Regions from separate parts of the Homo sapiens genome. Here region 1 is linked to region 2. The links are contacts of gene promoters, found by promoter capture Hi-C in human tissues and cell types (Jung and others, 2019). All regions are on one chromosome and are shown on one strand. Each heading gives the region's core, a stretch centred on a gene start or on the middle of the fragment in contact. The rest is flanking DNA. Distances are from core to core; before and after follow the strand shown. Region 1 has its middle 7.9 kb from the start of NPIPB8. Region 2 holds the start of SULT1A2 (sulfotransferase family 1A member 2).

Region 1 (4,763 bases), core at 1,389-3,888, 33 kb before region 2:
TGTAATTAAAAATCATGCATCATTCACAATTTATCAGTCTTTTTTGTTTGTACAATAACTAATATAGTTATTCTCTTTTGTCTGTATTTTGACTGGTTTGGTGAGAGGGAATTAGGCCACCTGAGAGTTTGTGTGTTTAAAATTTTCTGGCCAGGCACGGTGGCTCATGCCTGTAATCCCAGCACATTTGGAGGCTGAGGCAGGGGTATCACCTGTGTTCAGGGGTTCTAGACCAGCCTGACCAACATGGAGAAACTCCCGTCTCTACTAAAAATACAAACTTAGCTGGGCGTGGTGGTACATGCCTGTAATCCCAGCTACTCAGGAGGCTGAGGCAGGAGAATCACTTGAACCTGGGAGGCGGAGGTTGTGGTGAGCTGAGATCGCGCCATTGCACTCCAGCCTGGGCAACAAGAGCGAAACTCTGTCTCAAATAAATAAATAAACTATCACAGCATAAAGTAGAGGGATATTTCATTACTATCTAGTTAAACTGGTTAATGCAGAAAGGAAGTCTGGAAATTCCAGTTTTAAAGTAAAATTTTGGACATTGTAGGATTGATTATTTGGCATAGTTGTGATGTTTGTTCCTGCATTATGGTTTTGTTGGCAGAGCAGCCTCTAAGGACCTGTATATTTTCTTCTAGACTCTATATATTCCCTGTGAGTATTAGTTGCATGGTCAAACTGGCAAATTTTACCATAGGTATAAATAATAGAGAATGTGGAAGAATAGTGAATAGTGTCAGAGATAGTTAAAAGTCCATACAGAAGTAGAGAGGGTAATAAGTAACAGTGGCTTGGACTAAATATTTGTTGAATAAATTTTTTAAAAAACAGGCTACCTACAATTTGTGTTGAAGATATGAATGAATGAAGTTTCCACACCCTTATGTGGAGTCCTGATAAGTAAGCAACAATAAGGAAGGGTCCCCAGGTTGGGGAGAGCCCCAAGTTGAGAACAATAATGAACAATTACTGTATGAACAATTGTTAGAGACAGCTAATCACAAACAACCTGCGGGCACAATGACCTCATTCCACACGTAGCACCCTTCAGCAGGACCCTATAAAACTTTCCTCCAGCCCCTGCCTCTTTGCAGGTAGCCCCTTCTCTGCTGAGCTGCCCACTGCAACATATTTTCATAATTTCTCTAATAAATCTGCCCTTCTTTACCTACAACTATCTTGGTAAATGGCTTTACCACCTGCAAAACTGACCCTAGGTTGTTGCTACCCGATATGGTTTGGCTGCGTCCCCACCCAAATTTCATCTTGAATTGTAGTTCCCATAATCCCCATGTGTCGTGGGAGGGACCTGGTAGGAGGTAATCAAATCATGGGGGCAGGTTTTTCCCATACTGTTCTTGTGATAGTGAATACATCTCACTAAATCTGATGGTTTTATAAAGGGCAGTTTCCCTGCACGTGCTCTCTTTCCTGCAGCCATGTAAGACGTACCTTTGCTCCTTCTTTGCCTTCCACCATGATTCTGAGGCCTCCCCAGCCTTGTGGAACTGTGAGTACATTAAACCTCTTTTCCTTTATAAATTACCCAGTCTCGAGTATTTCTTCATAGCAGTATGAAAAGTAACTAATACACTACCTGAGACACCTTAGGAGATTTGTAATAGCTGTAATGCCAGGTCCACCATATTTTTAGCATAAAGCAAATGTTTACCCATGATATGACTGCACAGGCTTTCAGCTGGAGCCATAGCAACTCAAGTAGTAACCCTATCTTAGTCTGATTAAAAGTAAATATTAGTCTGGGCATGGTGGGACATGCCTGTAATCCCAGTACTTGGGGAGGCTGAGACAGAAGGATTGCTTGAGCCCAGGAGTTTGAGACCAGCCTGGGCAACATGGAAAAACCCCGTCTCTACAAAAAATACAAAAATTAGCTGAGCGTGGTGGCACACACCTGTAGTCCCAGCACCTTGGGAGGGTGAGGCAGGAGTATCTCTTGAACCCAGGAGGTGGAGGCTGCAGTGAGCAGTGATCATGTCAGAGGCATGTGAACCAGAGCAACTCCATCTTAAATAGGAGCTGGGAAAAATGAGGCTGAAACTACTGGGCTGCATTCCCTAATGGTTAAGGCATTCTAAGTCACAGGATGACATAGAAGGTCAGCACAAAATACCAGTCATAAAGACCTTGCTGATAAAACAGGTTGCAGTGAAGGAGCTGGCCAAAACCCACCAAAACCAAAATAGTGACAAGAGTGACCTCCCATCATCCTCCCTGCTACACTCCTACCAGCACCATGACAGTTTACAAATGCCATGGCAACATCAAGAAGTTATCCTATATGGTCTAAAAAGAGGAGGCATGAAAAATCCACCCCTTGTTTAGCATATCATCAAGAAATAACCATAAAAATGGGCAACCAGCAGCCCTCATGGCTGCTCTGTCTATGGAGTAGCCATTCTTTTATTCCTTTACTTTCTTTTTCTTTTTTTTTTTTTTTTTTTTTGAGATGGAGTCTCCCGCTGTCACCCAGGCTGGAGTGCACTGGCATGATCTCGGCTTACTGCAAGCTTCGCCTCCCGGGTTCACGCCATTCTCCTGCCTCAGCCTCCAGAGTAGCTGGGACTACAGGCGCCCACCACCACACTTGGCTAATTTTTTTGTATTTTTAGTAGAGACAGGGTTTCACCGTGTTAACCAGGATGGTCTTGATCTCCTGACCTCATGATCCACCTGTCTCGGCCTCCCAAAGTGCTGGGATTACAGGCGTGAGCCACCGTGCCCCTCCTCCTTTACTTTCTTAATAAACTTGCTTTCAATTCACATTGCGGGATCACCCTGAATTCTTTCTTGTGCAAGATCCAAGAACCCTCTCTTGGGGTCTGGATTGGGACCCCTTTCCTGTAACTATCATGCCACTGCACTCCAGCCTGGGCAACAGAGCAAGGCCCTGTCTCAAAAAGAAAAAAAAAAAAGTAATATGACTTAATGCATTCATTTTGGAGGGTAAGTCTCTCAAAATAGGCCTTTCACTGGGGGAAAATGGTAAAAATACTCCCTGGTAATTCAAGAATTGGAGACTCCTGAGATGCTGCTCATATTAGCTGAACACTTATCAATACTTCACTTTTTTCCATATATACTCAAGGAACAAGTGCCATTTAAAGTGTTTCACTCCGCTGTGCTAGGTGCAAGACTATAAAGAGTTGTGAGGATCAATACTTTTATGAAAACCAATGTCATTCTGAATATAGTTTCAGATGCTAGTGCAAAGGAAGCTCTTAGTATACGTAAAAAGTATTCAACAATAAATTGGGCATGGTTGCTTCCATTTTCTGCCTCACATACTTTTTTTTTCATGGTTAAAGTGATATAATGTCTATGATACTTTAGATTGGCAGTTGCAAACTAGTGGTCCTCAGCGTGCTTTTTATGACACCTACAAGGTTTGAAGACTTCGATTTCATATTAAAAATCTGGGTTTCAGGCTGGGTGTGGTGTTGCATGCCTGTAATCCCAGCACTTTGGGAGGTTAAGGTGGGTGGATCACCTGAGGTCAGGAGTTCGAGACCAGCCTGGCCAACATGATGAAACTCTGTCTCTACTAAAAATACAAAAATCAGCCAGGCATGGTGGCATGTGCCTGTAATCCCAGCTACTCAGGAAGCTGAGGCAGGAGAATCACTTGAACCAGGGAGGTGGAGGTTGCAGTGAGCCAAGATCACGCCACTGCACTCAAGCTTAGGCAATAGAGCAAGACTCCATCTCAAAAAATGAATAAATAAATAAATAAAATCTGGGTTTCAGGCCAGGTGTGGTGGTGCACTCCTGCAATCCCAGCACTTTGGGAGGCTGAGATGGGCAGACAGCTTGAGCTCAGGAATTCCAGACTAGCCTGGGCAATGTGGCGAAACCCCATGTCTACAAATAATACAAAAAAATTAGCTGGGTGTAGTGGAGTGTGCCTGTAATCCCAGCAACGTGGGAGGCTGAAGTGAGAGGATTGCTTGAGCCTGGGAGGTTGAGGTCACAGTGAGCTGAGATCGCCCTTCTACACTCCAACCTGGGCAACAGAGCCAGACCTTGTCTTAAAAAAAAAAAAAAAAAAAAAAATTCTAGGTTTCTGGCATCTCAAAAAAAAAAAAAAAAAAGGAAAAGTCAGGGCACATGGCTGCTACAGTCCTCTATTAAGCAATGTGCCACAGCAGGGGTCCCTGACCCCTGGGCCATGGACATGTACTGGTCTGTGGCCTGTTAGGAACTGGGCCACAGAACAGGAGGTGAATGGTGGGTAACAATTGAAGCTTCGTCTGTATTTCTGGCCGCTCCCCATTGCTTGCATTGCTGCCTGAGCTCTGCCTCCTGTCAGATCAGCAGCATCATTAGATTCTTACAGGAGCATGAACCCTGTTGTGAGTTGCACACACGAGGGATCCAGGTTGCATATTCCTTATGAGAATCTAATTCCTGATGATTTGTGGTGGAACAGTTTCATCCCAAGACCATTACCATCCTGCGCCCCATCCCTTGCCGCCTGTGGAAAAATTGTCTTCCACAAAGCCGGTCCCTGGCGCCAAAAATGTTGGGGACTGCTGTGCTTTAGAATCTGCCATGAATCTGCAGCCTCTATTATATAGCTCCCTATAGACTTTGCTTCCTACCGTCTTACGTTCTGCCTTATAGGCATTTGAGTTTGCAACCCTTGTTTTTGTTAGTATGCTACGCTGGTGACATTGACCAAATTGACCACACATTAATGATAAGCTTAGTTGGTGATGACCTCAATGGAATAA
Region 2 (4,783 bases), core at 1,665-4,164:
ACTGAGCACCCGCTAATAGTGAGTGAGTAGAGGACTTGCCCTGGGGACATTCAGTGACCTGCTGGGTGTTGCTGAGCTGTGAGGAAGTTCAGGTCTGGCTGCAGTGGTGAGGCTGTGACTCAATCAATCACTGCTGATGCTCCCAGGACCTGCACCAGCTTAGTCCCAGGGGCAAGGATTTTAAACCCCCACCTCCATTTCCTCATCTGTAAGATGCAAATAACAGTCACCTCTGCCTCACGGGATGGAGCTGTGTAATGCCCGGAACAGTGCCTGCTGCATAGAGGGGTTGCTGCCAGCTGCCTCTCCCTCCTTGTCTCTTACCTGCCTGCTGCCTGGGACAGGATGAAGCGGGGCCCTTGTGTTGCCCCAACCCTGGCTGTTGGCTAAGAGCCCACGTGATCTGCCTGTGAGAGGAGTTCCTTCCGGAAGAACCAGGGCAGCTTCTGCCCCTAGAGGGCCAATGCCCTAGCTGAGTGCAGTCCCCCGGCCCCAGCCTGGTCCAGCTTTGGGAAGAGGGTGCCCAGTTGTGCAATCCAGGCCGGGGCAGCCGTGTCCTGATCTTGGTATTCAGGGCTGAGCCTGGAGGGGGCTTGTGATGCCTGACTCTGTCTCTCTCTCTGGCCCCATGCCTTGGTAGCTGTGAGGCGTCACTGCTTTGGGTGACCTGATCTGGCTGTGATGGATGAGCACGGGGGAAATAGTGGAAGACTCGGAATTAGAAGACGTGAGTGGGCTTTGGCCCCAGCCTCCCTACCCCACTCCCTGTCCTGGGCTGCCTGTGACCAACCTTGTTTCTGCAGGCACACTGGATAGCCCTGCTGGAGCTCAGTGTCCCTAATCCCCTCCAGATACTGGTGGCCTAGGGGAGGTCATCAAAGACCGGTGGGACATCGACCTCAGCCCGTTTCCACGCTTTTTTTTGTTTTGTTTTGTTTTTTTGAGACCGAGTTTCACTCTTGTTGCCCAGGCTGGAGTGCAATGGCGTGATCTTGGCTCACCGCAACCTCCGCCTCCCGGGTTCAAGCGATTCTCCTGCCTCAGCCTCCCAAGTAGCTGGGATTACAGGCGTGTGCCACCAGGCTTGACTAATTTTCTATTTTTAGTAGAGACAAGGTTTCTCCATGTTGGTCAGGCTGGTCTCAAACTCCCGACTTCAGGTGGTCTGCCTGCCTCGGCCTCCCAAAGTGCTGGGATTACAGGAGTGAGCCACCGTGCCAGGCCTTCTCCAGGCTCTTGGCACCTTAGCCAGAAACAATTTAAGGACAAGTGCAAAAGTCATGAACGTAGGCAGATTTCCTGCAGAGTAAAGGGACTCACTGAAGAAGAGGAACGTGGGGGTCCTCAAGAGAGTGTCTCATGCCCTACAAGGTGTGGGGCTGACCTTTATGGGCTTCTTCAACTAAAGAGGGGTATATTCATGAAGATTCCAGGAAAAGGTAAAGATTTCTCAAGACCGTGGTGCCACAATTTACACCCAAATACAGGTGTTCCTGGAGCCGTCTTGGCACTGGTGGGTGTACGGTTTCATATGTTACTGATTGTACAGTGAGATCCTAGGTGAAACCTACATCAAATACAGCGCCATGTTGCTTCTGGTTGGTCGCAGCCAGCTTGGTCCTCATCCTATTTTTCAGGGACTTATTGGCCCTTGGCACATGCAGCTATTTCAAGTTTCCTTCTTCTGGTCATGTGAAACTGCTGCCTGGGATTTTCTGTTGTCTTGCTAGCACTCTATTAATCTCACATTCTCGCCTCTTTTCTGTGCCACCCCCTGCTGGTCCGGCTGGTTTTCACTAGAGTGCAATACAAAGTCTCAGTCAAGAGGGCCTCCTGAAGGTTGCTGAGGGCAGGGGTGGAGCTAGTAGCCGGAGGACCTGCCAGTCATGGGGATTCCTCAGGGGCACAGAGGAGGGAGGAGGGGCCTGTGGCCCTAGCAGGGGAGCAGCCTCTCCTCTGCCTGGAAATCCCATGCCTCAGTTTTCCCCGCTTGCCTCTGAGCTCACGCAACCCTGGGAAGGCTTGGGAGACTCACCTTTACTCAGATGGTTGTTTACCTGTCTCGTGCCCAGCTTGACCCTGGACTTTAAATAGTGAGGACAAAGAACGAGGAGGGTGGGGGGATGCACTCCTTCCACGGGGCCCTGTGGCTTCCAAGCCTCAACCTCCTCTGGCCTCTGTCTGTGGAGCCTCCTTCAAACCCATGGAAAGAAAAGTACCTGCCAGGGGCTGTGGTTCTTCTAGGATCTTCTATCGATGTTCTGTGAGGTCCCCAGGGAGCCATGAAGCTGGGGCTGGCTCCCAGGGCAATGGGACTGCAGTGTCCTTGTTCTTTCTTGTTCTATGGATCCATGCTCTGCTCCACCCCTGCCCCTTCACTCTGCCCACACGCATCACTCCAGACTGGCCTTGTGGTCAGAGCCTGGAGTGCATGGGCTGCTGGAGGCCTGTGGGTTGCACTGGGCCAGGACCCCTGGCACCTTCAAGACTGGCCTGGAGCCAGCAGGTAGGTGACCTTTCCAGGGCCTGCCTATCCCATCTTTCTCCTCCAATCCCTCCCCTCTCTTGCCTGGGTCAATTAGAGAAAGCTTGTCTTTTGGAGTTCAGGGGCAGGTCAGGAGCCCAGTGACAGCTCAAAAAAAAAAACCCACAAAAACAAACCCACCATTGGGCCCTTTCCCCTTTCATTCTTCTGTTTTCTACACACCAAACCCAGTCGTGGCTTTGGAGATCACTTTAAGCTTGTCTCCAGCTGGCAAACTAAGGAGGGTAATAGAGAAGCTCCCCCACCCCCAACCCTACCCCTTCCTTCCGGAAGCAAATCTAAGTCCAGCCCCGGCTCCAGATCCCTCCCACACTGACCTAAGAAACCCTCAGCACAGACAACACCCCTGCATTCCCCACACAACACCCACACTCAGCCACTGCGGGCGAGGAGGGCACAAGGCCAGGTTCCCAAGAGCTCAGGTGAGTGACACACCGGAATGGCCCAGGACGCCCTCACCCTGCTCAGCTTGTGGCTCCAACATTCCAGAAGCCGAGGCCTCTGCTATCCCTGCCCTCTCCCCATGGATATCCCATTTCAGACAACCCCGGCCGGCCTGAATCCCCCTCCCTTCCTTTTTTTTTTTTCCGGGGAGGCCAGGTCTTGCTGTCACCGAGGCTGGAGTGCTGTGGGATCCTGGCCACTGCAGCCTTGAATTCCTGGGCTCAAGTGATTCTCCTGCCTCAGTAGCTAGGACTACAGACCCTCACCATCCTGCCTGGATAGTTTTAAAAAATATTTTTAAAAGATTTTTAGAGATGGGGTCTTCCAATGCTGCCCAGATTGGTCTCCAAATTCTGGCCTCAGCCTCCCTAGGGTCTGGGATTACAGGTGGGAGCCACCCTGCCCAGGATCCTCCTTTTGCTGAGTCATCACAGTTTTGCTCATTCCCACATCAGGCTCTGGCCCCCAATACCAGCTCAGTTGCTCAATGGGCTGTTTGTCCTGGAGCCCAGATGGACTGTGGCCGGGCAAGTGGATCACAGGCCTGGCCAGCCTAGGAGTTGCCACATGTGAGGGGCCGAGGGGCTCAAGGAGGGGAACATCGGGGAGAGGAGCCTACTGGGTGGAGGCTGGGGGTCCCAGCAGGAAATGGTGAGACAAAGGGCGCTGGCTGGCAGGAAGACAGCACAGGAAGGTCCTAGAGGTTCCTCAGTGCAGCTGGACTCTCCTGGAGACCTTCACACACCCTGACATCTGGGCCCCGCGCCACGAGGGTGCTTTCACTGGTCTGCACCATGGCCCAGGCCCTGGGATTTTGAACAGCTCCGCAGGTGAATGAAAGGTGAGGCCAGGCTGGGGAACCACCACATTAGAGCCCGACCTGGTTTTCAGCCCCAGCCCCGCCACTGACTGGCCTTGTGAGTGCGGGCAAGTCACTCAGCCTCCCTAGGCCTCAGTGACTTCCCTGAAAGCAAGAATTCCACTTTCTTGCTGTTGTGATGGTGGTAAGGGAACGGGCCTGGCTCTGGCCCCTGACGCAGGAACATGGAGCTGATCCAGGACATCTCTCGCCCGCCACTGGAGTACGTGAAGGGGGTCCCGCTCATCAAGTACTTTGCAGAGGCACTGGGGCCCCTGCAGAGCTTCCAGGCCCGGCCTGATGACCTGCTCATCAGCACCTACCCCAAGTCCGGTAGGTGAGGAGGGCCACCCACCCTCTCCCAGGTGGCAGTCCCCACCTTGGCCAGCGAGGTCATGCTCACCTCAGCCTGCTCACCTCCCATCTCCCTCCCTCTCCAGGCACCACCTGGGTGAGCCAGATTCTGGACATGATCTACCAGGGCGGTGACCTGGAAAAGTGTCACCGAGCTCCCATCTTCATGCGGGTGCCCTTCCTTGAGTTCAAAGTCCCAGGGATTCCCTCAGGTGTGTGTGTCCTGGGTGCAAGGGGAGTGGAGGAAGACAGGGCTGGGGCTTCAGCTCACCAGACCTTCCCTGACCCACTGCTCAGGGATGGAGACTCTGAAAAACACACCAGCCCCACGACTCCTGAAGACACACCTGCCCCTGGCTCTGCTCCCCCAGACTCTGTTGGATCAGAAGGTCAAGGTGAGACTGGGCACAGTGGTTCACACCCGCAATCTCAGTACTTTGGGAGGCTGAGGTGGGAAGATCCCTTGAAGCCAGAAGTTCCAGATAAGTCTCTTCCAAAAAAAAAACTTAGCTGTGCATAGTGGTGTGTGCCTGTAATACCAGCTACTCAGGAGGCTGAGGTGGGAGGATCATCTGAGCCTA

Evidence for each region. Contacts are between HindIII fragments. The study calls those that stand out against the background at their distance.
Region 1: a contact is called between a fragment that was not itself captured here and the fragment with the promoter of SULT1A2 in region 2, in 1 of the 25 tissues and cell types used here (psoas muscle).

Annotation. Positions count from the first base shown.
Region 1 is chr16:28,627,790-28,632,552 of GRCh38, reverse strand. No RefSeq gene overlaps it. Among named protein-coding and RNA genes, the nearest start is that of NPIPB8, 7.9 kb to the left of the region's middle. The HindIII fragment of the contact is 3,733 bases long and covers 772-4,504 here.
Region 2 is chr16:28,595,181-28,599,963 of GRCh38, reverse strand. It overlaps SULT1A2 (sulfotransferase family 1A member 2), which reads left to right and starts at 2,914. Exons shown (of 8, transcript NM_001054.4): 1 at 2,914-2,967; 2 at 4,030-4,181; 3 at 4,289-4,414; 4 at 4,500-4,597. The coding sequence starts at 4,034. RefSeq lists enhancers at 1-513, 514-1,048, 2,682-2,976. The HindIII fragment of the contact is 13,947 bases long and covers 1-4,783 here.